7 separate regions of the Homo sapiens genome follow, and regions 1, 2, 3, 4, 5 and 7 are each linked to region 6. Evidence: promoter capture Hi-C in human tissues and cell types (Jung and others, 2019). All regions are on one chromosome and are shown on one strand. Each heading gives the region's core, a stretch centred on a gene start or on the middle of the fragment in contact. The rest is flanking DNA. Distances are from core to core; before and after follow the strand shown. Region 1 overlaps LOC105373890 (a long non-coding RNA gene). Region 2 overlaps LOC105373893 (a long non-coding RNA gene). Region 3 overlaps LOC105373891 (a long non-coding RNA gene). Region 4 has its middle 130 kb from the start of MIR4268. Region 5 overlaps LOC105373893 (a long non-coding RNA gene). Region 6 holds the start of EPHA4 (EPH receptor A4). Region 7 overlaps LOC105373893 (a long non-coding RNA gene).

Region 1 (3,702 bases), core at 197-2,696, 1.6 Mb before region 6:
TCTGGATATTGGCCCCTGGGTTGTTTATTTCTTCACTTCCGGCTGAGACTTCTTAGATCAAAAGCCTATTGGTGCCAAACTCAGTTTTTCACACATCCAATTATTTTAAAAATAGCCCAAACAAGCAGATTTTTAGCCACTTAGGGCCTGCTTGCTTTGCATATCCTGCAAAACCTCACCTCCCACCTGCTGGCCTTTGAAAGGCAGGGCCTTATGCTTACAGGATCCAAGCAGCTCCCATCCTTCCACGTTCTCTGACCTAGACACACTCCACCATCCTGCTGAGGAACATCTCCTGGACGCAACCCTCCTCTTTGCTCCCCCTTCTGGTCCCCCTCTCTCCCAAGAGTTCCCTGGTTCTCTTCCTCTTCAGAGCAGTAGTTCCTTCTGGACAGTCCCATGATATGAAGGGCTTCTCCTCTAACGCAACCTTGTCCAAATGTCTCCCAGTAAAACTCACTGGGGGTTATTTTTCTCTTTATTAGCCCTCAAATTCTTTGAACTCTCACAGTATATTATGATCAAGGCCCTGTTACTCTTGGCCATCAGCTCCATACCCTGTCTCTGAACTGAAGGGCTATACATAGATTTGACTGCACTGTTTCTTTTCTTTTGTGTGTGTGTCTGTGTGTGTATACCTCTTCTAATTGGGACAATGCTCAGTCTTCCAAATCCTGTCTATTCTGAAACACCCACAGAAATAAATTATCTTACCTACTAAGAGGCAATCATTGACTGGTAATGTTTTTGCTGCTTAAGTATAATGGAAAGTACATAGATGTCATTTTATTATTGTTCTATAAACTGCAGTGTATATTTTAGCCTTTGTGATTACACACACACACACACACACACACTATATATATATATATATAAAATGAAATATAAAAAAAGAGTCAACCTTTTCTAACACAAGAGACAAGGGAAAGAGTGGAGTTTGTGGTGGAGAAAGAATGAGACATAGAAATAAAATTAGTATCCAATTATTTAAGGCTGCTTCATGTCATTTGCTAATCTTGTTTTTATAACTAGATTACAAACTTTGTGAGATCGTGGATAAATGTCTTATTCCTTTACCATCTGTGTCCTGCTGCAATATTGGATTAGTATTTGTTCTCAATAAATTTGTTGATGAAGGCAAAGATAGAGAAGAGGAAGTTGACTGGGGAAAAGAAGAGATGGAGGGAAATAAGAGGACAAGGGCTTAGTGAGGAAGAGAGAAATCTAGGAAAGGAAGCTTAGCCAAGTGACCTTAGGCAAAAGTCTTTGAGCTTCAAATTACTAACCTATACATGGGGATAAGATGGCAGGTGTGACTGGATAGGGATGTGGAGTGACTTTTAATGGGGCATAGGTACACTTGCGGGTTGCATCTTTTCCTATGCCAAAAAACCCATGAAGGTGGCCCTCAGAAGAGCAGGTGACCACCTGGGCTCTGGAATCACCTGGAAAGTCTCAGAGCGTTAGTTAGGAAGAAGGTGCCAGGGGACCAGTTTAGAAGAGTAGCCCCTTTGTTTGGGGGAGATGTTATCTAGTTAGGCTCTTTGTATTTTTAGGGCTCAGAAGGGAAAGTCTGGGCAATAGATCCTAGGGGAGGAAAGGAGCCCCCGGACTCTGTGTTGGTAGATCCTGGTTCCTCCTTCACTGAGCTCTCTAAGCTCATGTGGCAGCTGGATGTGGTCACTACACGTGGTTTACAGCTGGATGGAAACCAAAGCACTTAGAGCTAGATTTGGGGGGCCCAGTTAGGAGGCTCCCTCAGAGGAGCTGAGTACTGAGGGAATGGCTGATGTTCCTAGAAAGAGGTGTAACCACCGGCCCCGGAGAAAAGGTCACAGCCGGTGTGGATTATCAAAGGGTGAGAGGAGTCTTAAAAGGGAGACATTAGACTCCCTGCTAATAAGGCCTGTGGAGATTTGGATGATTGATTAGAAGAAGAAGAGACAATGGGATTCACACTTACATTTACAAAGCAGTTCTGACCAGTTATACTATGATTAAACATGCTGCCTGCCTCCCCATGCATGAGGAGCCGAATATGTATTCCAAGGCAAGACAAGGACAATTATAAAAAGATTTAGGAAGATGCCAAGGTTATGGATTGGAAACCTCTGTTGTTCTAAATCGTGTGGCATCACTTGGGCTTTCTCCCTGGTGCAATTACGTTACAGAAAATCACTTTCATGCTGGTGTCCACAGCATGTGGGCAAAATCAGGGAGTTTAAAAGGCCTTCACGGTTAAGAATCTTGGATTGAACACCACATAACTGGTTTCAAAAAGTCTGAAAACAATGGATACTTGAAAATTTATAACTTACCTAGAGGATCACTTGATTTTTTATTGAAGTAATTAAAAATAAAACAACTTCTTCTTGATTCAATTTGTTATTCTTCACCCTCATCTGCCATTGCCAAAAGTTATCCATTTCATTGAAATTTACTAATATGTTTACATACCGGGTACGTTTTTTACTTATAATTTAAAAATCTTCTCCGTATTCCACTATCATCTTTCATTTCTAAATGCATTTACTTATGATTTTGCTTTTTATGTTTATTGATTAGCTTATTCAGAGATTTATCTATTTTACTGAATTTTCAAGGAACCAATTCTTGGTATCATTTATCAACTTTGCTTTTCTATTTTTAATTCATTTATGTATTTATTTATCTTTATTATCTTCTTCCCCTGCTTGAGTTCCATTTTGCCATTTCTTTAGTTTCTTGAGTTGAAAACTTTATTATCTTACCTTCTATTAAAATAGTAGCAAATATATGTGGTTATATATTATATGAAAGCACAGTTTTAACCATATCCTATAAATATGTGTGTGTGTATATATATATGTGTGTATGAAGAAAAATAAATTTAAAAACAAAAATATTATACAATATTGCAGAAATCTGCTGGTGAGGCCTCAGGAAGCTCAGGGAGCTTCCATTCATGGCAGAAGGTGAGGTGGGAACAGGCATATCACATGGCAAGAGAGGCAGCAAGAGTGATGCCAGGCTCTTTTAAACAACCAGCTCTTGTGTGAACTCAGAGTGAGAACTCACTCATTACCACGGGGAGGGCACCAAGCCATTCATGAAGGATCTGTCCCCATGACCCAAACACCTCCCACCAGGCTCCACCTCCAACACTGGGAATTGCATTTCAACATGATATTTGGAAGGGACAAATATGCAAACATATCACATTTGTTATTAATTTCCAGTTTTATTGTGTTGCATTCAGAGAATGTGGCCTGATCACGTCTAATTTTTAGAATGCATTGAGGATTTTTAGTACAATACTTAAAAGCAGAGCAGGTGTTTCTCCGTAAGTGAGGGAGAACACACCCATACCCACTCACCCACCCACCCACACACATGCCAGTGTAACCTTATAGATTCAAAAGCATCATTTTTTCTCTTGTTTTCTGATTACTTGACCTGTCATAGATTGATAATGATATAATAAAGTCTTTATTTGTAAATGACTGCCAAAGGCAGTGTGATGAATTAGAAAAAGCTGTTTTCAGATCTCAGCTCCATCTCTTAGTAGCAAAGGATTTCCCAAAAGCAGTACCTGAGACAAGGATTTGAGTGCAAGTCAATTATTTGATAGGCGACAGGAACACTGGTAAGGAAGTTAAGAAATGAATCAGAGAAGAGGAGGCGGCACTATTTCAGTAAAATGGGTATCTGTGTTGCTTGATA
Region 2 (3,803 bases), core at 284-2,783, 1.5 Mb before region 6:
TATGTTAATTTGATTTATATACATGCAATGTACCATGCCTAATGTTGAATGTTGGAAGACTCCAGCAAGCCTGATACCAGCCACATAAATGAGACACTACCATTACGAACTGACTTCACATGTATAAGCTCACCTGCTTGGAGCAAATAAAGCTGTGGGAGTCAGTCTGTGCAAGGGAAACAAGGAGTGTTCTCCTGCATTGCACACGTGAGGGCTGGGTCTTCCCAAACCAAGGACGTGGCTTTTCTAGAAGTAGTCGTCAGGATTCTCACTATATGCCCAGTCCATTGGCAAGTCCGGGACACTGTGCTCAAGTAAATAATCTGTGGAGTGGGAAGTGGCTTAGGGCTCCCTGTTGGTTCACGGCATGCCCTACTTGGATAGGAAACTTCTGGCTAACCAGAATCCCTGAGAGCAAAATTCTTACAGGAACTGACAGCCATGTGGAATGCACTTGGCAAAAAAAGCACATGAATATGCCCCTGTGGGGTATGTTGGGGGTGTATGTGGTATGTGTGTGTTGTATGTATGATGTGTGTTGAGTGTATTGGGTCTGTGGTGCATGTGGTATGTGTGTGTTGTGTGTCTGTGTGTATTGCATGTATGGTGTGTGTTGTGTGTATGTATGGCATGTATATGTGTGTGTTGCATGTGGCATCTATGTTATATGTGTGTTGTGTGATTAGGTATGTGTGTTGTGTGTGGTACGTGTGTTTGTGTTGTGTGTATTTGTTCATGCTGGGTGCCTGTGTGGCATCTGGTACTCACATTCACTTTGGACCAACACTGTATAGAGATCTAGGTTCATCCTGGGTACCCCAGTGCATGGCCAGATCACTTTCTGTCTTCATTTTCCCACATTATAGTAATGACAGTCTATTGACATATGGAAAACATTGAAAGTAGAGGAAAAAAATCACCCCTAATCCTACAGTCCCCTGGGTCTGACTGCTGCCACTTTGAGATCTTCTCTTGTGATATTTATCCACATGAGTGTGAGAGTGTATTTGTACTCATCAGTGGATGCTACATCTTATGATAACTTTCCATGTTAAATTGCTACTTAGTCTTCATAACTCTCAGCCTTAATAGCTGTATAATATTCCATCAGCGCTGTATCATTACTTCTAGTTAGGTGGCTTTTGAGCATTCTGTATGATAAATAGCACCACTCCTAATATTCTCCATTCCATCAGGCCCGGTCCCCTTTGTCTTCTTTAACTCCGAGTTTAGCGCAAATAATTGTGGCTGTGGCTGTGGCTGGAACGGCTCATCTCTTGGCATCGACAGGTCTCTGTAGAGATGAAGGCTTGGTTGGCTAATTCATCTGCCTCCCGTTTCAGCCCTTCATCAAGGCCTTGCATGGGCCCTGAGGTGGACAGCAACAGGACAGGCCGCCACTCCAGTTAAAATGCCATGAGCCAGCTCTTTCACGTCACCTCCCTGAGTGTGCTGCCATGCCCACAGCACCCCAGTGCAGTGGTACCCTGTTGCTGGCACTTCAAAGCCCTTGATGCTGTGTTTACACTTTTGCTTTCCCTCTTTGTCCCATAATAAATTCCCAGGGGGCATGTTATCTCTTTATCTTGAAACGGGCAGGACTTTTTAGAGTGGGATAGAACCCTGTGAAGCAATTTATTCTGTGGGCCTCCTGGAAAGGGTAGACTGCTTAAGTGATTTTCTTAGGATTTCCATGGTTCTCAGGAATTTGTACAGTGTTCCTTGCTGTCCCTGGCCCCGAACACACAATCTTTTGTTGGATCTGCAAGGGGGAGGTGGTGCATTTTTCCTTGGCACTCTTCCCTGTGTTGTACCCTGTGCTTCCTCCTGAAGCCTCTCGTCCATGTCGCTAGTTTCCTTGATGATCCCACAACCCACCCTGCTCTGCCCTGCCCCTGAGCTGGCACCTCATCATCCATTAGCCCCTGTGCTTCTTCCCCAGCTCTTTGTTCCAAGGCTGTCAGTCTTGGCCTCTGGAATCATCTAATTGTGTGGGGATCACATTATTTTCCAGTATGTAAATCACCTGCCATGGGGTAGGCCCCATGTGTCCTGGAGCAATACGATAACTAGGAGGAGGGAGTTGGCAGAAATGACTCATTGGTACCACTTCCAGTTTTCTGCCATGCTCTTAAAACAAGAATCAGCAGTTGCCACTCCAATTGGGAAAGTCAACCTTCCACTTGCTCAGGTCATCTCCCTCATTCCTCTTGGAGCTCATCTAACTTTGTCTCCTTTTCACTGGCCCAGGAAGTAGAAGACTCTTGGACTTATGCCCTCAGTGTCCTCTTTGTCTACCTTCTCTTCTTTCTCTAGCTGGTCTTTTGCAACACCCAATGCCCTTTCCCCCAGGAAAAGCTGCTCTCAGAAAGGAGTCCTGCAGAAGCGATCTATACCTCGCTGTGGAGTTGAGGCTTCATTACCTTTTTCCAGGGAGGCAGTGCGGTGGTAAAAGATCGTTTGCTCAGGCAGAGCTGACTTCAAATCCATACTCTGCAACTCATTAGTTCTTTGGCTTCGTCTTTCTGAACCTCAGTTTTCTCCTTTGTGAAATGGAAATAGCACCTACCTTGGTTGACATAAGGCATGTAAAATACTTAGCAAAGTTCCCACACGTAACTACTACTTATTGACATGGATTATTTTTATTTGAACCTTAGGTCTATTTGTGGGATGAAAATATTTGAAAAAAGTTTAAGCTGCAGCAGCAGATTCTGGTGCATGCTTGTATGTATGTGTCTGTGTGCATGGATATCCGTGGATGCATGCATGAGCAGTGATTTGGGGGAAGCTGGGAAATCTCTGAAATCACACAAAGAAAGCAGTCCTGTCCTCCTACTATTAACTTCATTCTACCCATTTCACGTGGATGCCAGTTCTCTTGGGTTTTCTTCTTTTAGTCTTTAACCAGCCAGTTGTATAGTTCTTCTAAGCATGATGCTTTTCACGATCATACCTCTTGCTTTCCAAATGTCCACAACCTTGCCTTGAAGTGTCCACTGCCCTCTGCCCTTCAAGCAGAGCACTGTCAAGCCATGGATCTCCAGGGAAACCAGAGTGAAGAGCCCTTTTTAGTGAACAAGGGCAAAATTGTTGCCATGGCAAGAACATTTTGGAAAATGCAGTCTTTTGGAAAGCAATTTGGTAATATCTATAGACATTAAAAATATATACAACTGATTATTCCACCACTAGGAATCAACCCTAACCCTAAAGGTTTGCATAATATCCATAAAGAAGTATATCTAAAAAGTTCATTGCAGTGTTATTTGTTGTTGTAGAAAATTGGATACAACTTAGCTGTTTATCAATATGGGGATGGTTAAATGAATCTTACATATAATGGAATATTATATAGCCATAAAAATGAGGTTAATTTATGTGTCTTGCCACAGAAATCTCACCAAGGTGTTGTTAAGTTTAAAACACACACACATACACACACACACACACTCTCTCTCTCTCTCTCTCTCTCTCTTAAAATCTGATCACATCTAAAGAAAAATGACAGAGAAATATCTGGGTATATACCTCTGTATTGAAAATGAAGTGACAGGATGCACACCAAACTGCCGATAGCTGTATCAGTCAGAGTCAATCAGGGAAGCAGAAATACAATGTATTATGGAATAAGGATTTTATTGTAGAAATTGGTCCTTGCACATTATGGGAAGAGCTGAGCAGGAAAGGGTCCAAAAAAGGAAGTTGAAGGATCAGAGAACAGTTATTCCCCTGCTCTGGTACAGCAAATGGGTAAGAGTATACAGGGAAATCTAGAAGCTAGCATGTCCAGCTGCTGCAGC
Region 3 (4,137 bases), core at 604-3,103, 1.6 Mb before region 6:
AGATACATGGCCAAGTCCTGCGTCTACAAGTTCAATTTCCTACAGAGTAGGAAATGCATTCCTACTATGGAGGGAGATGGGAATGAATATTTACTGAACCATAATCTAATTACTACTCCCATTGGAAACAGATGTTTTGGAGACTTAATGAGATAATGATGAGGGGCATTTAGCATGGAGCCCTAGATATAGTAAGCTCTCATTAAATATAACTTTTTTTTTCTGCTGCTGCTGCTGCTGTTCCTGCTATATCTATTCCTGTGACACTCCCTTCCTTAGCCTAAGAGATGAAGTTCTGGAGAAGAATGCATGGGAGCAGGCTGTGTACCATTCAAGGCCTTGCTGGCTTGGAGAATCAAAGCTCCCTCCTTTTACCCCAACATGTAATGTTCTTCCCTTTGACCTCAAATGGGTCCATGGAAGCTTCTGAAAACTTCAGGTCCTTGTACATCCTATTACATTTAAAGCATGTTCATGCCCATTCTTATTTGACTCTCTCAATTACTTGTGAAGTAAACTCAGAAGCCATTGCCACTGTCATTTTATGGAGAAGAGAAGAGGTTGGGTTGATCCCAGGTGACATCTGTCCTTTGGGACTTTCTAGTCTACAGCTCAGATGGCACAAAGTGTCACTCTCATTTCTATTTTTAATTTTAATTTAATTTTTTTTTGAGACAAGGTCTCGCTCTGTCACCCAGGCAGGAGTGCAGTGGCACAATCTTTACTCACTGCAACGTCTGCCTCCCAGGATCAAGTGATCTTCCCACCTCAGCCTCCTGAGTAGCTGGGACTACAGGTGCTTGCCACCACACTGGGGTAATTTTTTGTTTGTTTTTGGTAGAGAAGGGGTTTCTACCAAAAACAAAGGCTGGTCTCAAACTCCTGGGCTCAAGCAATCTGCCTGCCTCAACCTCCCAAAGTGCTGGGATTACAGGCATGAGCCACAGCGCTCAGCCCCAGAGTGTCATTTTCATGACACGGGTATTAGTTGAGGTTGGCAGAAATCAAACATAAGCATTTGAAAATTTAGTGTTCATTTTGTCATTCATTCATTCACTCCTTTAATAAAGCAGGACGTTTTGGAGCTCTCGTTGTGTGGTCCATAAGCATGTTATGGTGGACGATTAGATAAGTGCTATAAGGCATTAGGGGCTCAGCAGACTCTGCCAATTTCAGGCCCATTTGGGGTTCAGATATTGGCAAGGTGTTGGCAGTGAGGGCCAGAGGCAGGAAGACTGAGCCTTCTAATCACTCCTGCCTTGCTCATTGCTGTGTGTCCTTCATCAGCCATATGATGTCTCCTCTCACATCTCCTTAGAGCACCCATTAGGTCCAACTAAACTGCTCTTTTAGGATGCACTGGGGCAGTTCAGGGTCCCAACACAGCCTCCTACTCTAATAGGCACCCTTTGATGATGGAGAAGGCAGGTCTGATGCCTAGAGTTGGGGTCGGCAATCTGGGCTGTTGCACTGACTCTGTGGCTGGCCGGGAGTTTGGGAGGCATCTAAACACATTCCCTTCTCTTTCCTTTTCCATCTTCCTGTCTCTGAGATGGAACTTGTAATGGACTGAATGGAGATGGTCTTGATTACTTAGTTCCTTTTTCTCAAACCATAGCTAAATGTCATAACTATTTAAACTTATGAAACAGACAGGGACCATTTATCCCCATTTTACAGATGAAGAAACAGGCTCAGAGAGAGTAAAAGATTTGTCCACTGTGCTGCTGCAATCCCAGGTGACCTTATATATCCTTCCTAGTCTTCAGATTCCTTAATACTTTTGAATTCACAGACACCTGCTCTGTGTTGTCCTTGCAATGCCCAGGGCTTGCCAACCCTTACCTGTCGGTGGTGTGAGGAAGCCTGAAGTAGGAGCAAACAAGGAAGGAGAATTTCTCCCTCTTCCTCCCAGGGATTCCTGGTCATCTACCACAACTCCTTTGTTCTCTACCACCCCACAACCCTGGATCTTGCAAGGGAAGGAAAGATCCATTCAGGACCGAAGCCCATTGGAGCCATTCATGTTCTGGGTTGACGTGGATTCAACTGGGCATGGCTGCTCTGTGTTGGGTGGGCACCCTTACATCTCTACCAGTCCTGGTCCCTTGACCTTTGATCGTCTCTGGCCTTGGCCTGTTGTGAACCTGAGGTCTCTTGCTTGCTCTGTCAGTCTCCCTCCTACCCTCTTGATGAAGGTCTTGACTTCAGAGGACCTTTCACAAATAACAAAGGTGTCTGGGCTGCCTGGAGTGTCTGTTCTATGCTAACACTCCACTAAGTGCTTTATATCTGCAGTTTGCTCTGAGTGAATTGAATCCCCAGACTCTAGGGTAAAGGTGATATCGTCTTCATTTTACAGACAGGGAAACTATGAAGCTGGGAAAGGCTATTTATTTTTCTCAGGATTATACATCTGGTAAATGAAGCTTACTCCTTCTATAATTTTACTCCTTCTATAATATAATAATATATTACCCCTTCGATAATAGCTGCTGATATGGGCCAGGGGCTTCTTATCCATTATTTGCAATCCTCATAACAACTCTGCTGTCTCATCCTCTTTGTTTACCAAGTGATGGAATTGAGGGACAAAGAGGTTAAATAACTTGCAGTGGGTCACACAGCTAATAAGTTATAGTTATGAAGTTTAAGTGCAGGGCTCTGAGACTCCCAAACTCCTCTTTTATTCCCTTTCTCTTGAGACTTCTTAGACTTCCTCATGATCTCACCGAGCCCTTCTCAAATAACTGTGTGTGTTAGAAGTCTGGTTAAAAGAACATCAAGAACAGAGCTGACAGGCAAAACATGTCTCATTTACAGGGCAGCCTGCGTGTGTGGTGTGCAGAGGGCAATGGTGGGAAGCGAAACCCCGTCCCTGGTCTTGGTAGTTCATGGGCTGATTGTAAGAACGTGAGACCCTCTTACACTTTCTTTTTGAGCATCTCCTGTTGGCACCACCTCCTTTTCTCTTCCTTTTGACTTCTACGATCTTTGGTCTGTGTTGTCACCTCCTTTTGACTTCTGGAATCTTTCATCAGTGTTGTCACTCCACGCACTGGCCCACGCCTCTGTCTGGGCCTGTACCCAAGCCCCCTCAAATCATTTGAGTGTCTGCCTTAGTAAGGGAAGCCATGAGGCACCAAAGGTACCAGGAAGTGAACCAGGGTCTTGTCTGGACCCCAGCCCAAGCCCAGACTATGCAGCCAGAAGGAGATCACTGGAAAATGGTATTAGCTCGTTGCAACCTTTAGCACCATTGCTGTGGCTTCTTTCCTGCCTTGGAAAAAACTGCCTACTTTCAGTTTTGGATGAAAGTCATCCTACTTTCAGTTTGATGACTCCCCAACTCCCTCCCACAAACCCAGATGCTTTGGGCCAAAATCTATTAGGGCAAAACACACCCTGCTCACTCCAGGCTGTGAGAATGGCTAGACTTTGTGCATCTTCTGATCTGATTACATTTCCAGTCCCAACCACCTTCATTTTTCACCTCCTAATTGATTTCCCTGCTTCCACCCCTCCAATTTATTCTTTGCTCAGCAGCCATCCCAATCCTCCTAAATTGTGAGTCTGCTCATGTCACTCCTCTAATGGTGTCTCATGTTCTTTAGAGAAAAAGCTGAAGTCCTCACAGTGGCCTACAGTGATCAAGGGAGGGGCTGGCATTTTTTTTTTGGCAAAGGGGCAGATGGTAAATACTTTTGGCTTTGTGGACCATTGGCGTCTGTGGCTACTACTCAGCTCAGCTGCAGCAGGAAAGCAGCCACAACATGTGAACAAATAAGCATGGCTATGTCCCAACAAAACTTTACTTATAAAAGTGGGTGATAGGTTAGATTTGGCCCACAGGCCGTGATTCGCTGACCTCCTCTCTAGGTGATGTGGCCCTGACACCACATGGCCTTATTACCTTCTGCTCTTGCCCTCTGTTTTAGCCCACTGTCCTCTGTAAACATGCCAAGGCTTTGCTTGGCCTTTGCATCAGCTGTTCAATCTCAAACATTTTCTCCCTTTATCTCCGAGCGGCTCATTTTCTTACTTCTTCAGGTTTCTGCTTAAGTATCATTAGCAGAGAGCCCACCCTGACCACCTTATCAGAAATAGCAACCTTCTCATTTTCTTAGCACCCCATCC
Region 4 (4,181 bases), core at 346-2,845, 1.5 Mb before region 6:
GAAGATGTGAGAGGCAGCTCTGTGTTCTGGAAAGGTGAGCAAATAGATCAGTTTAATATGAGGTTTCCTTATGGAAGTTGTTTATATCACTACCAAGCTCTTGGATAAATCCTAAATATCATTACATTCTTAGATGAGTATGCTTTTACTTTGTTTTTATTTTGCCTTTGATAATAATAATAATAATAGTATCATTTATTGATTTTCTTCTATTTTGTGCTGTTTTATATGTCTATATCTATCTAATTACATCTTTTTACCCCTCACAAAAACCCTACAAGTTATTATTACTCCCATTTTATGAGTAAAGAAATTGAGGCTCCGCGACTTGACTAACAGCACATAGTAAATGGTAGAGGTGGGAAATAAATCCAGATCTGTGATTCTCCAAAGCCCCAATCTACCCAGTATACCATGCTACCCCACCGAGCCAGGATGGAAAGTGAGCATATCATTCTTTGCAATTCTCCTCCAAGGTGACTTAAAGGTTAGTGGACAATGGTTATGCAAATTGGTCTTTCATAATTTAAGGATTCCTACATAACCCCACAGGTAGCACGTAATCTGATTTATTTTCACAGAGGACTGTAATGATCCTACCACTTTAAGACGTCAGCATTTCTGTATGAGAAATATTGTTTCTCTCCAAGCTTTGTGGCTGAGAGGAAGTCAAATCAACATATCCTAAATTCTATTTTAAAGTAGTGATTAGATCCCACCCTGTACAGAACATAAGAAAGTGAATTTAGAATTGATGGGTACCAGATGGCCTGAAAAGGAAGAAAAAAACAAGTAACGTTCAGCAGGAAAAGGTTAAGTTTGAGTGTTATTCAAAGTTTATACAAACCAAAATTTTAGCCTTGACTACTGCTGTAAGGCATTTTTCTATCTTCCTCCTACCTTGTAATTAATTAGGACTGAGGCTAAGAGAATGAGGGGAGAAATATCAATGGAGTAGAACAGATGAACAGTTGAGTGGAGGCCTTGTTGCGGTTTGAGTAAAAAATTGGCTCGAAGTTTCCTTACCTTATTTGTGTTTTGTTTCAGACTTCACAGTACTGGAGTTAAAAATATGTATGTGTGTGGTGTTAATGTGTTTAACAGCATGATTGATTTAACGGATACTTGGAGAGACTGACCAGGAGTCCACTCTCTCAATGGCAGAACATCAAGCTTGAGCACCTTTCATTTTGAGTAGCCAGCCTGTAAGACAGCAACTTCCCTGGGCTTATTCCTGCCCTCCTTGGACTTGCTGATGAGCTGAGCATGATGCTTGGCAATGATGCCATTATGAGAGAGGGTGGCTAGGGAAATGGCAGCACCACTGCACTTATTGCTTTTAAATCGAAGCATTGGATATATAAATAAAAGATTGTCATGGTTTTCTTGGTTTTAGAAGAAAAAAGCCTCTCAACAGCAATGTTATTCAATTCAGCTCCTGCTTTCTTTGCCAGCAGCTCATTGAGGAGAATGGGGCTTGAAAGGGGGTGGGGTGGAAGTGGGGCAGCCAGTTGAGCCTCATTAGTCAACAACTGGAATCATCTGGGGTCAGTATGTGGTGACCTCCTGCTATGGCTCCATTGCAACAAAAACCCTTGAGGCCTCCCAAACACATATCAACCCTCAGATATATCTGGAGGAGTGACTTGAAAAAGCAATTTTTAACACACAGAAGATTTTCTATCCTTCATTGCAAAGGTGATGCTTCTTTGACTCAGGAGGGTCTACTGTTATAGCTTCCCACTTCAGGAGCAACATAATCAGGATCATTCAGCGGAATCTCCTGAAATCCAGAATATATTTCTTTAGGCAGAGGCTGGGGAGAATCAATCCTGAAACCTGTAGTGTGCCCAACCTTCACTTGGCTTCTGTTCTGGGCTGCTCTAGAATGTCCTGGGCAGTGCGGAGCTGGGCTGTGACAGTGTTTGGTGTTGTATGTTGCAGGAGGGTTACTGGTTCCCAGTGGCCTGAGCCTGTCTCTGTGTTACCACTGCCGGAGAACCTGGGCTCATCATCTGTGCTATTGGCAGAGCCGCACTTACTAGTAAATCTTGGCGTGTGAAAGCTGGAAAGCACTTTGGATATTCTTTTTAGGTAATCCTTTTTGTTTTATTGCTGAGAAAGCAAGCCCAGGGAGGATAAGTGACCCGTCTAAGACCACAGAGCCCTTGGTACAGAACAAGGGCTGTACCAACCTCTCCTCTTTTCTCCTAGCCTCAGTTTCTCAGCTTGGTCCATTGCCTTGCTCCTTCTGGGTCTCCTGTGGGGCTTTTCCTGGGTTGGGTCGCTGGGATTTGCCAAATCCTGGTCCTGCCACAGCAGAGACTTGGCTGAGGTCCTTAGAATGTCCTTGGGAAGCTGCTGCCTTAGAAGGTCCCCCTTTGAGCAGCAGACAAGCTTGTTTAGCACCTTCTAGGAGGTAAAAGAGAGTGGAGCCAATTCTGTGTCCTGAACACTGGAACCTTCTTTTCCAGACCCGATTCTCTGGTCTCCCGTGGTGTATGAGTTTCTTGTTAAATTAATGTTTGCCTGTCTGGAGTGCCAGAGGGATATAGACATTATAGGCCAATTAGAGATAAAAATCAAACCAACCAGAGTTGTCCTTTTAAAAATTAAAAGTCCTTTTTATGTGCTGTGGAGGTGTTGGCATTATCATAAAGACTAATTAGGACATTTTACAACATCCTGGTAACAGGAGGAAACAATATTGTTGGTAACTTTAAAGATTATTAAGCATCTTTAGCACTTCAGGTCAGATATTTAAGATGCTTTCTGTGCTCACCTGCTGTTGCTGCAGGAAGTATTTTATTGTCTCATAAGAAGAAATGAGCATTTTGAAGGCATAAATGCCCGGCTGTAATGGACGGTCCTTCACTTTGCAAAGCCCTAAAACAGGGTCTCCAGGAAGAGTTGACTGTGACTCCACATGAGATTTGTAACACAGTGTTTATCAGTCTGTGTGTGAAGGCAGTTTCCATCTCGACCACCTGGAGAAAAGCAATCCCCTCAAAGGCAGACATTACTTAACGAGGAGGAGGCTTCGCTCTGGCATTGGCGGCAGGAACAAGGAAACCAGACCGTGCATGTTTCTGTGAAAAATGCTGCCTTCACTTGCAGGCAGATGATTCTCCCACATTCTAGCAGACAGGTTCGAAAGCACTGAAGCACAAAAGAGTGGGGGTGGGAATGAGGGTCCACGGAGAATTTCTCGAGGGAGATCTTGTTTATGATTTGCCAATTCCTCCTAGAAAGCACTGTGAACTCAAGCAGATTCTTCCGAACTTGATTGAAGACAAAAGGCTTGTGGCAGATGTGGGTTGGATGCTGAAATTGCATGCTATTGTCATTTAAAGAATTGTATGTTGTCTTGAAATTCAAATGTCCTTTAACAAATAGGGAAATTATGTGAAGGTCAGACAAAGCAGAAGGGTAAATTTTAGTGTCATGAAAATACCTAAAACCGAAGATCTATGTGCAGAGATTTCCAGGAAGCTAAGGAAATCTTAAATAGTTCCCAGTCCCAATCTGAAGCACTTTAAAGGCTGTGCATTTATAGTGTTATTTATCTGTGAGAGTGTTAGAGAGACTTCCACAATTTCAGCAATTTTAATTGAGACTAAAACCACACAATTAGGCTTTACTTAGTTATCAGTGAGAACAGTAGCTATTTACTTTATAGTCCTAATGATATAACAAATGTAAAGAAAGCGCGGGGCAGAGTTGATACTTATTTCTCAGCTTTGTACTCTGGGATTTTGCCACATGAACTATTCACTTTAATCAGGGTTTTTATAGTGAGATTTCAGAATATGGCTTCGAAACATTACCATTTCCTGCAGGCTAGTCTGTTACACTCTGATTCTCACACAACGATTTCTTTTTCTAAAAGTGTATTTTAAAAATTGTAACTATAATGTGGTCTTATTAAACAGAATCTGAAAAAAAAACTTACCAACATACACTACCCACACATAGTTAATATCTTTGTGTATTTCTTTTCACCTTTCCCCCTTATGAATAGATTTATTTAAGTTTTATTTAATTGTAACCACAGTATTTACATAATTTTATATCCTACTCCTTTCACCTAATATATTGTAACCTTTGCCCATGTTATTTTATGGTATTTGTAAACATAATATTTAAGGGCCTCATAATCTGTTATTAAGTGGCTATATTAT
Region 5 (4,110 bases), core at 875-3,374, 1.5 Mb before region 6:
GTGTATCTCCTATTAATTCTGTCCCTTTAAGAGAACCCTGAGCAATACAGTGTTTCATCCCCAACCAACATTTCTGATACCCTAAAAGCAACTTTGATGAAAAAATTACCTATAAAATTGGTGTAACTGCTATCTATTGTAATCACTAGGTAAAATAAGCAGAAAATTGATTAGAAAGTTTGATGGGTAGTTTTAAAGAGCGCACGTTTTTCTTTCCTTTTTAAGCTTAAGATTCTGTAGATTGACAATTTCAGCTGGGTTCAGCTAGATGGCTCTGCTATATGTGGACACGGGGCTGGCTAGTCTTGTCTGGGGCAAAAGTCTGTGTCTGGAGTCTGCAGCTGGGTCAGCTTAGGGGCTGCTGATCATTTGCTCGTTGTCTCAATTCTGCTTCGTGTCATCTCTCTCATCTTTCAGCAGGGCAGCCTGGGAGAGAAGGCAAGCCCAATGAGCAAGCATTTTTCAAACTTCCCCTTAGGGCACACTTGCTAATCTGGCCAAAGCAAACTATGAGGGCAGCCAGAATTAAGGGGTAGAGAAACAGACTCCACTTCTTGATGGGAATTGCTGCAAGGGAACATTGTAAAGGGATGAGGAAACAGGGAGGGGATCATTTATGGCTGGTTTTACGGTTAAGCTCACCCTCCAGCTTCTGTCATTCTCAGTGCGATGTGGACAAATTTTGCCATGTTCACATACCATCCCTATTTAGTTTTAAAAGCATCAACTGTAACTTAAAAACAAAAGCCGTTCTAGCCTCATACTAAGCAATATTATCTGTGAAATCACAGACTTAATGGGCTAGTTATTGTTAATTAGTTGAATGGTGTCCCCCCAAAATTTATATGTTGAAGTCCTAACCTCCACTACCTCCAAATTTGACTTTATTTGGAAGTAGGGTCATTGTAGATGTAATTAGTTAAGATGGGGTCATACTGAAGTAGGATGGGTCCCCGATCCAATGTGACTGGTGCCCTTATAAGAAGACGGAGAATGCCATGTGATGACAAAGTCAGAGATTTAGAGTTACGCATCTGTGAGCCAATTAATGCCAAAGATTGCAGGCAGATGCCAAAGCCTGGAAAAGACAAGGAAAGATTCCCCTTCAGGTTTCAGAGGAAGCATGGCCTGCTGTCACCTTGATTTCAAATTCTTAGCATCCAGACCTGTGAACCAATAGATTTTTGTTTATTTGAGCTGCCTAATTTGTGGTACATTTTCATAGCAGTCCTAGAAAGTGAATACAGTTATTTTTAAAGATAAAATATTAAGCAAAACCATATGAAGTTGCCACTTTTTAAAAAATGTTTGAACAACAGCAGTGTCACAGTAAAATAAATAACTACTTGGTTATTAAGAAAGTTTGTGGACTACCTAAATTTATCTTGTATACAATCACTGATATATCACTATACTTTTGAAGATGTTGATTTAAAATGTTCTATTCAAAGATAAAGCATTTAAATTTCCTGGGAAGGTCAGGCTGTAGTTAACATTTCTCCCATACAATACTGTCTTTCCTTGTTTTACGCACTTGGGTAAGGATTAGAATAAAAATCTTTAGAATTCATTTGCAAATGCTCTAAACCTGGCTATTTTTTTTTTTTAGTACCAAAGTTAATTTTTTTAAAACACATAAATTGGCCTCTGACCTTGAGATATTAGAAAATCAAGGAGTAAATTTTCTAAAATAGACAAAATGTGCCATTTGGCTGCGAAATAAAATATGTGAATTGAATCAAGTTCCCTTCATTGAGGCAGTCCAAATTAACTTGTAACTACTTTAGTAGAATTAGATCCCAGTTACTTTTGCATGGAAATAATAAAAAAAAAAAAGAAATCTAAAATTTCTGAATCTTGCAAATACTAGCTAATTAGGAGACTTTATCTGTCATGATTATTTTGAGCAACTGATCATTTCCATCAATCAACCAAGCAACCCTGATAAGCCAATCATTTTTTAATCGATGTTGAGCCACTGAAAAGTTGCCATAGATACCAAATTCTACAGCCATCACAACAGAAAGTAAGGTTAGAATTGGAAGTGACAGGTGTATTCATCACATAGTTAACAAGCCTTTGAAGGGAAAGAGAGAGTTTGTCAGAGTCCTTAGGCTGGGTATAAAAGATTGCAAAGAACACTCAAACAATTCCCAAAGAGCACTTCAAAAGAAGGGAGAAGAATCCGGTTTTCATTAGAAATGCAGGAAGATGTTTGCCTGAAATTCAAGCTGTAAGTAACAAGTTCCTTGAAGTCTTGCTTGGCTGTCATTTACCCGGGGTCACCAGCAAGTTATCTTAAGAGTGGAGAGTTTCCTTTTTGTTTCCTTTCCTTTCTACATCAAAAGTAAATAAGGATGGTTGAGAGCGTGGGGCGGTAATAACTATAGAATGCAGTCCTGATTGCACTGTATATAAATGTGGAAATTTGAAAGTATATGCATTTATATAGATATAGATGCCCATATGTGTGTAGACATATATATGTATATTTACTTGTTAATACTTTTAGAATCAAAAAGTAGAACCAAGAAATATATTTTGAGAGTCACTGTACATAAGCCAGTATATATTACTAGTAAAAATATTGCATGTCTAGAACATTGGGAAATAGATAAAAAAGGAAAGGACTCACTTCAGGTGAAAAAAACTTAATGTATTTCAAAAGTATAGCACACAACTTCCTTTGGGGCGGGCGAGGCAAACTGGCTTCTCATCCTCGTTACGCACATCAGCAGTGGGACTATGTGGAAACACAGGGTTATCCTCAGGCTCCAGGAATGAGCACTGGAGAGAAGCAGTCAGGAGAATAGAGTTCCCACCCTGGCTTTGCCATTTACTCAGTGTAAATGCAAGTTTCTCTAAGACTGTGCAAACCAGGAGGGGAGGGGGGTCTGCCTAGATTGCTAAAGACTTCATCTTGCTCTAACATTCTTTGAGTCTGGGGTTATTTGTATCTATGCTACACAGCCAGCTGTGGCTTACAGGGACCCCTGTGTGGTTTGCACATCATGTCTAATCATCGGCTCCCATCCGCTTCCTAACACTGTGTCCCGGGGATCCCTGCACACCATTTTGGTTTCATGTTCCTAAAATGCTCCCTAACATTTGGGCACCATAAAAAGAAATCAGTTGAAACAGTTTGATAAATAAAGGAACGTAGGTCTGAATAAGTTCCTGAAGGGCACGCAGTGATCTGGGTGTGGAACCAAAGCAGGACGAGGCTCTGTTCCTCCCCTAGGAGGGTGGTTTCTCTGGGTTGCTCTCTCTGGGGAGCAGAATCTTGACTTTCATGCCCACTTGTTCAAGCATTTTGTTTTTCTCTCCTCTATGGTACCTGGAGGAAGAATTTTATTTGGAACTCTGTTATAACTACCAAAATGTCAAGGGAGGAGAAGCAAATCCATATCATGGCATAAACAGTTTACCAAGTAGTCTGTCTGTCTGTCTACCTACCTACCTACCTATTTCTCTCTCTCTCTCTCTCTCTCTCTATTGTCTGTTTGTCTAGCTAATCTATCTTTTCATCTATTTATCTTTCTATTTATTATCTATACCATCCAATATCTGTCATCTATTTATCTAAACTTATATATAAATTAGTAACCCAGTGTGAGTCTGATATTAAGTACCTCTAATATTCCCTCTTCTTTTTTTCTATATCTCAGGTCATGGCTATGATCAAAATCAATGCATGATGAGTAGTGACTTCTTTCTTGCTTGTATGTGTGTCACTTAAAAAATTCCTATGTTTCAGTCCTCTCCTGTCCTCAACACAGTCAATGGTTTAATGCCTTGCAAATGTATTAATGCCTTACATACCAGCATTTCTAATCTACATAAATGGATTTTTTTATAGATCTCATTCTGTTTCTTGCTTTTTTTTTTTTTTTTCCAGATTGAGTCTCTTTCTATCACCCAGGCTGGAGTGCAGTGGTGTGATCTTGGCTCACTGTAACCTTCACCTCCTGGGTTCAAGCGATTCTCATGCCTCAGCTTCCCTAGCAGCTGGACTACAGTCGTGCACCATTACTCCTGGCTAATTTTTGTATTTTTAGTAGAGACAGGGTTTTGCCATGTTACCCAGGGTAGTCTCAAACTCCTGGCCTC
Region 6 (3,840 bases), core at 499-2,998:
AGAGGGCCCCTTTCCTCCCAAGCGATGTCTGTGGGCAGGTGTATAAATCTCTCAGAGCCTCCGTCTGGAGGGCTCCGGGTACCGGCTGCCCAGCCAAGGCTAAGTTGGTTTTTGGCTCCCTCCTTCGGAACAGAGAAAACGATAGATTACACAGGGATGGATGGACGGATGTCTGGAGAGATGGAAAGATGAATGGATGGATGGATGGGTGGATGGATGGATAGATGAATGGGTGGATGGATGGAGGGATGGATGGACGGACGGACGGACAGATATATGGATGGATGCATTATGGATGGATGCATGGACGGACGGACGGATGCACGGAGAGATGGATGGATGCATGGATGGATAGATAGACGGATGGACGGACGGATAGATAGATGGATGCCGGAAAGGAGAAGAATGAGAGACGGATGTGAGACTAGATGCACGCAGGCCAGAGCACCAGCATACGCTGGAACAGAGCACGAGCATACACTCGAACACACGCGCACACACTCAGGACATCTGCGCACAGACATACAATCCTCCGCGTCCGCTTCCACGCAGGCATTCGCGCACCTACATACACGCAGTTGCACGCGCGCGCACACACACAGGCACACACACGCAGACATGCACACACACGCAGACATGCACACACACCACACATGCAGACATGCACACACACGCAGACATGCACACACACACCACACATACACACACACACACACACAGTTCGCCTCTCCCTGGGTTTCTCAGAAACTAAATGATCACCGCCCCCCCGCCCCGCCCCACCTCCCGACACAGACACACAGGCACATACAATCCTCCCAGCACGTCCGAACGGATGCACAGAAAACTGAGCACCCAGACGGGTCCCGTCGACCCCGCACGTTAGCTCTAAACTGTGTGCAATTCTGGGGCGAAAAGCTAAAACTCGACTGCGTTCAACTTGCCGGCGGGTTCCCCAAGTCTGCGGGGCGAAGAGCTCGGGCCCCTCAGGCCCGCAATCGCACCCTCGGGGCGCTGGGCTTGGCGAGGAGAAAGGTGTCTGACTCCGGGTGCTAGAAATCAGGTCACTGGCGCCTGACGAGCGGCGCCACGACCGCTGCGCTGCGGAGCAGGCCCCGCAGCCCGGTCCCGAGAAGCGCAGGGCTCGGGAAACTTTGCAGAAACCAGAGCTCGAAAGGCTTTCGCTAGAATCCGGGAGCACCAAGCCTTCACTGTGCTCCAGGCTGCGTTTTCCCCTCGCCCCGGGCTGGCTCAGGAGAGGACGTGGTTCTTGTAATTTTTTTTTTAAATCCCGGCGTTGTCTCCCGTGCATCCCCTCAGGGCGCCTCGAGCGGGCCTCTCTGGCGGATGCTGATAAACTTTGGCCTTTGGTTACAAACTTGGACAGACCCGCCGCGTGCACGGGTCACCGCCTCGGGGCAGGCTGTCCGGCGGTTCCCCGCTGCCCCTTCGCCGATCCCCTCGCCTCAGCCCCCTTCTCCCGAATCGGGACGCACCATTCACACTGGGCTCCCCCCGCACCACCTGGCCCTGCGCTCCTGAGGACCCCTCACCCGCGATGGCCCCTCGCTGTCCCCGACCACAGAAAGGCCGTCCCGCTCTTACCTTCATTCGCGGGGTATACCCTGGAACCTGTGACAGCGTCGCAAATCCCGAAGAGACACGAAAATAGGGCGAAATAGAAAATCCCAGCCATGGTTCGCCGGTGCCAACGCTGCTCCTGCCGCTTCTATCCCAGTGGAATAAATGCTTAAGTTAGGAGAGCAGCGGGCTGAAGACATTGCCAAGGGGGCGGGCCCGGCCGGTGACGTGAGCCCGCCAGTCCGGGGCCCGCGGCCAATGGCGGCGCAGACAGGGCGGCCGAGCCCCGCCTTCACCGAGCAGGGCCCGCCCCAGGGTTCCGCCCCCTCCGGGCTCCACGGGGCGCGCGGTCTCCCGGGGCTCTAGGGGGCGAGCACGGCCGGTCCCCGCCCCCGCCTGCCGGAGGGAGCCAGCGGGATCCCCCACGTTACCTCGAAGGTCGAGCCCCTGGACGGCGGAGGGACTTTGGAAAAGCTCGGAATTGACCGAGGGGAGCCAGAGAAGAGGTTGGAAACCTTTTCTCCCACCACGGGCGGTTTAAGATGGAGGAAAACGCTCTTTTATTGAAATAAAAGAAGTCTAAGCTGACCTGCGGTTGCTTCTTTAGGAGAGTCGACGTGTCTGCGTCCAGCGCGCCCGGGCTGAGCTGCAGACTCGCGCCTGCCACCGCCACCCTCTGCCACCTTGCCCTGTTTTGTCTTTATGGCGCTTCCCCCTCTGAAATACTCTTTGCGGGGAGTTTTGTGGCTCTATCACTCGCTTCTTCCCTGGCTCCCCAGATGCCTGGAGAGCGGGGACCTACTTGGTCCCCAACGTCCAGTCCGCAGCAGGGCTCCGTCACTGTCTCCAGAGACTGAACGAATGACTTTCTAGCAGTAAGGAAGTCCCCGCTGGCCCCGTCCCCCTGCACACGCCGTGGACCTCGCCCAGGGCCCAGGACGCCCCGAGATGGCCTTGGGCAGGGAACCAGTTGTGGATTTCCCGGGGGCAGGGTTGGGGGCAGTCCCTGGAACCGGGCCTAGCCCGTCTGGGAGCGGTGGGGTAGAAGTGAAAGGCTTAAGTGTGGGTGCGGGGACTTGCAGCCGCACAGACAAGGCAGACCGGGACTGGGAAGCTGCCCGGAGCGGCTGCTGCGACTCTCCGCTCCGACCTAGCCGGGGCAGCCCTCCCTGCCCCGGGAGAAGACGGCGAGCAGGAGGACCCGCAGAGCCCCGCCCGGCTGCTCCGGCCCCGGGGGCACTGGCACCATCGGGCTGTGGTCTTTTCCCGATGCCCGAGCCGTGGACGCGGCCACCTAAGAGCGGTCCGGCGAAGGCAGCGCAGCCGGTGTCCCAGGGACCGGTCCCCAACGCCACTCGGTGCATTTCCCCAGGCGCTGGCAGGGGCACTGATTCCTAGCAATGAGGCCTCCCTTCCCCTTCCCAGGCCGCCCCTCCTCTGACTCCCTCCAGAGCAGGGCCGAGTTTTCCTGGGGAGCCTGGGTCCCGGCGGCCGGGCGGCCGCTGGGAGGTGGAGGAGCCTCTCCAGCCCCGGCCGCAGCTCATCGTGAGCCAACCGCGCCACCTGCCGGCCAGATGCGGGAGTGTGCGGCCCCGGAGGAAGGGCGAGCGGACAAAGACCGCAACCCGCAATCCGCAACCCCGCAGAGAGGTGGTGCGTGCGTTTGGGCGAGCTTTTCAGCCACCGCCAAGTCTCGTGCACTAGGGCTACTCCTACCGTGGGGCTGCGGACAGCGCTCAAGAGGTCCTGGAGTCTGTCGTGACTCTCGCCTGCTGGATTTCAAAAGATGGAATCGGAAAGCGTTTCAAGGAGAAACTCCTAACAAACCTTCCGGGGGTTGCCTGAGTGGCTGCTCTCGGAAAAGCGGATCCTAAATAAAGCGGGAGGGTTATAGGGCGACGTCGAGGAGAGGACAGGTCTCGAGTCACTGCTACAGTTTCAGGTCACTGGGCTCCGCAGCAGATCGTGTTTTCTCCCGTGGCTCGAGAGCTGCGCTGGTTTCTCATGCAAACTCAGAGCCGAGCTAATGACATGAGCAACTTTTACTTTTACACAAGATGAGCACGCGTGCCGAGGCGCTGGGCGGCGGCTGTGTGAGTTGGTGGCCCAGACGAACAGCTTGTGCGAGACTCTGGGCATTTCGGTTTCTAGATACAAGATTTGCTTAAATGTCACAGTCCAAAGAAGTGGATTTCAGTCATTGTAGCTACTGATTGCACACAAGTAAAAAGGGAAAAAATATGTACTCGGGGGATATATGTA
Region 7 (3,761 bases), core at 1,109-3,608, 1.5 Mb before region 6:
TACCATAGGATCCCTGTTCTCCCCAGACTTACAGAGGGACTGGGGAGATGGAGCATGGATATATAAAAAGATAAATGATAACACAGGGTGGAGTTTGCTAGGAGCCAAAGGACCAGTGCCAATAATAAGTGCTATAGGATGGCTGGGAGATGGTTTTTGAGCAGCTGCTAATGTGCTGGCCTCAGTCCTGGGTGATTTCATGTTATCACATGAATCCTCCAGGAACTCAGTGGTGGGAGTAATCGCTGTGGATTGGGATGGCCAGAACGTCTTCAGAGGGGAGGTAAGACTTGAGCTAAGTTGAATTATATGGTGATATTTCTCAACAGTAATGAAAGCTGGCTGAGCAAAAACCCAGAGCATAATTTCTCACTGGCTGGCTGCTCCAGATAGTAATAGCTTCAGTGCCCTTCAGAGTGGAATTTTCCTGAGCCTGTGAAGATGTGTGAGGTGTACCCAGCAGGTAAGCATTCTTCCATTTGCCTTCCACCCGTTGCTTTAATTAAATGCACATTGCTTCTCCTGGTTAGTTCTTCCAAGACTCCAGAAGTTGTGGAATGTCACTGCAGCAGCTGAAATGGCAGTTCACTGAGTGGAAATGATGCAGACAGGGAAAGGGATCTTTTAAGTCTTTTTTTTTTTCACATTGGTGATGGGGGTGGAGGCAAGGAGAAGGTGGGGTTGGGCCATCGGACCAAGGGAAAGAATGATTCTGGGGAAGATTTCCTCTAATTTCTGAGTCCTTTTCTGATGTTATGGCTGCTGCTTTTTTTTTTATATATATATAGAATTCAGTTAGATTTGTGGCAGGAGGCTCCTAGATTTACACTCTTCCTCCAGGAATTAGGGAATCACAGAAAAAATAGCTACAGTTATGGAGGGCTTTCTATAAGTTTAAACCCTCCATATGGATTATTTTATTTAATCCTTACAATATGCAGGTACATTTTACTGATGAGGAAATAGAAGCCTAGAGAGGTTAAACAAGTTGCTCGAGATTATATTGCTACTAAGAGGTTCAAAGAAGAATTGGAATTTTCAATTTTCTTTAAACTTTAAAAAATGTAACAACTTTGGGGCCCAGGCGTGGTGGCTTATGTCTGTAATTCCAGCACTTTGGGAGGCTGAGGTGGGCGGATCATGAGGTCAAGAGATTGAGACCATCCTGCCCAACATGGTGAAACCCCATCTCTACTAAAAAAAATAAATAAATAATAATAATAATATGTATATATATAAATTAGCTGGGTGTCGTGGTGCGCACCTGTAGTCCCAGCTACTCGGGAGGCTGAGGCAGGAGAATTGCTTGAACTGGGGAGGCAGAGGTTGCAGTGAGCCGAGATAGTGCCACTGCACTCCAGCCTGGGCAAGAAAAGCAAAACTCTATCTCAAAAAAAAAAAAAAGTAACAACTCTATTAAGACATAACTCATATACATTACAATTCACTCCTTTAAAGGATATAATTCAATGGTTTTTAGCATATTCAGGTATGCAACTGTTACCACAATTTTTAGAAAATTCTCATCTCCCCCAAAAGAAACTCTGTACCCATAGCAGCCACTCCCTAGTTCTCCCCAACCCCTTGCTCCCCTTCAGCCCTAGACAACCACTAATAAACTTTCTGCCTATGTGAGTTTGCCTATTTCATATGAATGGAATAATATAACAGGCAGCCCTTTGTCACTGGCTTCTTTCACTTAGCATAATGCTTTCAAAGTTCATCCATATTACAGCATGTGTCTGTACTTCATTTCTTACTATGGCTGAATATTCTATTGTATGGCTATACCACATGTTACTTAACCATTCATCAGTTGATGGAAATTTATGTTGTTTTCATTTTTTTGCTATTATGAATAATGCTGCTATGAATATTTATGTATTTTTTTTTCTGTAGGCGTATGTTTTTATTTCTCCTGGGTTATACCTAGGAATGGACTTGCTGGATCATAGGGTAACTCTATGTTTAACCTTTTGAAGAACTGACAGATTATTTTTCAAAGTGACCGCACCATTATAGATTTCTACCAGCATAGAATCTTCCATGTAAACCACTCACAAGGTCATTTATATCTTGATCACTTTTTCTTTCTCTTTTTTTTTGAGACAGAGTCTCGCTCTGTCGCCCAGGCTGGAGTGCAGTGGCGCAATCTCGGCTCACTGCAACCTCCGCTTCCCAGGTTCAAATGATTCTCCTGGCTTAGCCTTCCGAGTAGCTGGGACTACAGGTGCCCACTACCACTCCCGGCTCATTTTTTGTATTTTTTTAAATAGAGACGGGGTTTCACCGTGTTAGCCAGGATGGTCTCGATCTCCTGACCTCGTGATCCGCCTGCCTCGGCCTCCCAAAGTGCTGAGATTACAGGCGTGGTTGGTCACTTTTTATGCACACAAAATATCCATTAGCTTACTATGGCTCTAATAAAAACCATTGAGAAACTGGAGAATTTTCTTGATGAGGAACCTTAAAGTCGAACTCCAGGTTTGGAAGCTTCAGTGCCTTTTGATTTGAAGATGGTAATTGAGCTAAGTGCTGATGAGGTAAATGATGAGAGCTGCCATATTTGTATGTCCCTTCATTTCCTGAGGCATTAGGGAGATTTTCTGCATATTTCTAGAACTGAGTGGTTTTTGGCAGTACATATGCAGGTGTGGCAATAGCTCAGGATTGTCTATTATTCTGAAAAGCCATTGACATTTGCTGAATGACAACACACAAAAGACGCATAATATCTATGCATATGTCATGCTGATCTCTTGAAATGTTAGGTACTCTGGGCATCAATTTACTGGGCATCAAATTTACATCAAATTCACATAAACCCAAGGCCATTCTTTTAAGAGGAAATAGGAGAAAGGAAACCCGGAAAGTAATTCTTTTTTGCTCTTTGCAACAGATATGTGAAAGGGGCCTAAAAGGTGATTTTCAACAAGGTATACGTGAATGAGTCTTGAGCCTTTCTGTCTGGGAATGGAGGAGCATTTGCTGAGTGTTTATTCTGAGTGCACTGGGCGGATGTGAGAAGGGAATAAGCCATGGTCTCTTGCCTCTGGCAGTTTCTAGCCTGTGTTACCACATAATAACTCAATGCTAAGCTGTGACTGTAAGTGCTACAGGGATCGAGGGAAGGGAGAGGTGGAGTGTGCAGCAGTGGCAGCTAAGAAAGCTTACACAGGAAATGGAACCAACCTTACAGAAAGCCAAGCCTAGAACCGAGTTAGGCTGGAAGGAATGGTGAGACTATTCCAGGTGGGGTCAGTGGTACCAACATGACAGAAGCCACAATGTATTTAGGGGTCAATGGACAGATGGGCCTGGCTGGAGCAGAAGATATATGGGAAACTTGGAGTGAGGAAAGGTTAGAAAGCAGAATAGCATCATGGAAGGAGCATGGGACAGGGAATCTGGACATATGGATTCTGCTTTTAGTTTTGCTACTAACTAGTTTTCGATGCAGGCTCTGTGATTTAGTATGGGGCTTCTGATTCTTAATCTATAGACTATGGGAGCTGAACTAGTCCTAGTTCTCAAATCTGATCTTATATGACAATTCCCCGAGTGTTTATTTAAAATACAGACTCCTGGGTCCATCCTGTGAATGTCATGTTTCCGTAGATATGAAGTGTGGTCCCAGGGTCATGGTTCTCTTGCTGCACAGTGGAATTATTTGACTTGTTTTTAAAACTAGGAATGCCTCAGTTCCAACTCCAGAGATTCTGATTCGATGGGTCTTGGGAGCAATGTAGGCTTTGGGAATT

Evidence for each region. Contacts are between HindIII fragments. The study calls those that stand out against the background at their distance.
Region 1: a fragment that was not itself captured here is called in contact with the fragment with the promoter of EPHA4 in region 6 in 1 of the 25 tissues and cell types used here (mesenchymal stem cells).
Region 2: a fragment that was not itself captured here is called in contact with the fragment with the promoter of EPHA4 in region 6 in 1 of the 25 tissues and cell types used here (lymphoblastoid cells).
Region 3: a fragment that was not itself captured here is called in contact with the fragment with the promoter of EPHA4 in region 6 in 1 of the 25 tissues and cell types used here (dorsolateral prefrontal cortex).
Region 4: a fragment that was not itself captured here is called in contact with the fragment with the promoter of EPHA4 in region 6 in 2 of the 25 tissues and cell types used here (H1 embryonic stem cells and IMR-90 fibroblasts).
Region 5: a fragment that was not itself captured here is called in contact with the fragment with the promoter of EPHA4 in region 6 in 1 of the 25 tissues and cell types used here (dorsolateral prefrontal cortex).
Region 7: a contact is called between a fragment that was not itself captured here and the fragment with the promoter of EPHA4 in region 6, in 1 of the 25 tissues and cell types used here (dorsolateral prefrontal cortex).

Annotation. Positions count from the first base shown.
Region 1 is chr2:219,928,093-219,931,794 of GRCh38, forward strand. All of the region lies in intron 2 of LOC105373890 (a long non-coding RNA gene), which reads left to right. Among named protein-coding and RNA genes, the nearest start is that of MIR4268, 23 kb to the left of the region's middle. RefSeq lists an enhancer at 3,385-3,702. The HindIII fragment of the contact is 3,836 bases long and covers 1-3,364 here.
Region 2 is chr2:220,112,504-220,116,306 of GRCh38, forward strand. All of the region lies in intron 2 of LOC105373893 (a long non-coding RNA gene), which reads left to right. Among named protein-coding and RNA genes, the nearest start is that of MIR4268, 210 kb to the left of the region's middle. The HindIII fragment of the contact is 6,513 bases long and covers 1-3,803 here.
Region 3 is chr2:219,992,846-219,996,982 of GRCh38, forward strand. All of the region lies in intron 1 of LOC105373891 (a long non-coding RNA gene), which reads left to right. Among named protein-coding and RNA genes, the nearest start is that of MIR4268, 88 kb to the left of the region's middle. The HindIII fragment of the contact is 3,370 bases long and covers 169-3,538 here.
Region 4 is chr2:220,038,558-220,042,738 of GRCh38, forward strand. No RefSeq gene overlaps it. Among named protein-coding and RNA genes, the nearest start is that of MIR4268, 130 kb to the left of the region's middle. The HindIII fragment of the contact is 4,075 bases long and covers 1-3,633 here.
Region 5 is chr2:220,089,823-220,093,932 of GRCh38, forward strand. The region is part of intron 2 of LOC105373893 (a long non-coding RNA gene); the gene reads left to right. Among named protein-coding and RNA genes, the nearest start is that of MIR4268, 190 kb to the left of the region's middle. The HindIII fragment of the contact is 7,415 bases long and covers 1-4,110 here.
Region 6 is chr2:221,570,556-221,574,395 of GRCh38, forward strand. It overlaps EPHA4 (EPH receptor A4), which reads right to left and starts at 1,749. Exons shown (of 18, transcript NM_004438.5): 1 at 1,603-1,749. The coding sequence starts at 1,693. RefSeq lists silencers at 1,705-2,124, 2,725-3,004, 3,055-3,214. The HindIII fragment of the contact is 17,926 bases long and covers 1-3,840 here.
Region 7 is chr2:220,068,834-220,072,594 of GRCh38, forward strand. It overlaps LOC105373893 (a long non-coding RNA gene), which reads left to right. Exons shown (of 5, transcript XR_001739889.2): 2 at 330-463. Among named protein-coding and RNA genes, the nearest start is that of MIR4268, 160 kb to the left of the region's middle. The HindIII fragment of the contact is 4,261 bases long and covers 229-3,761 here.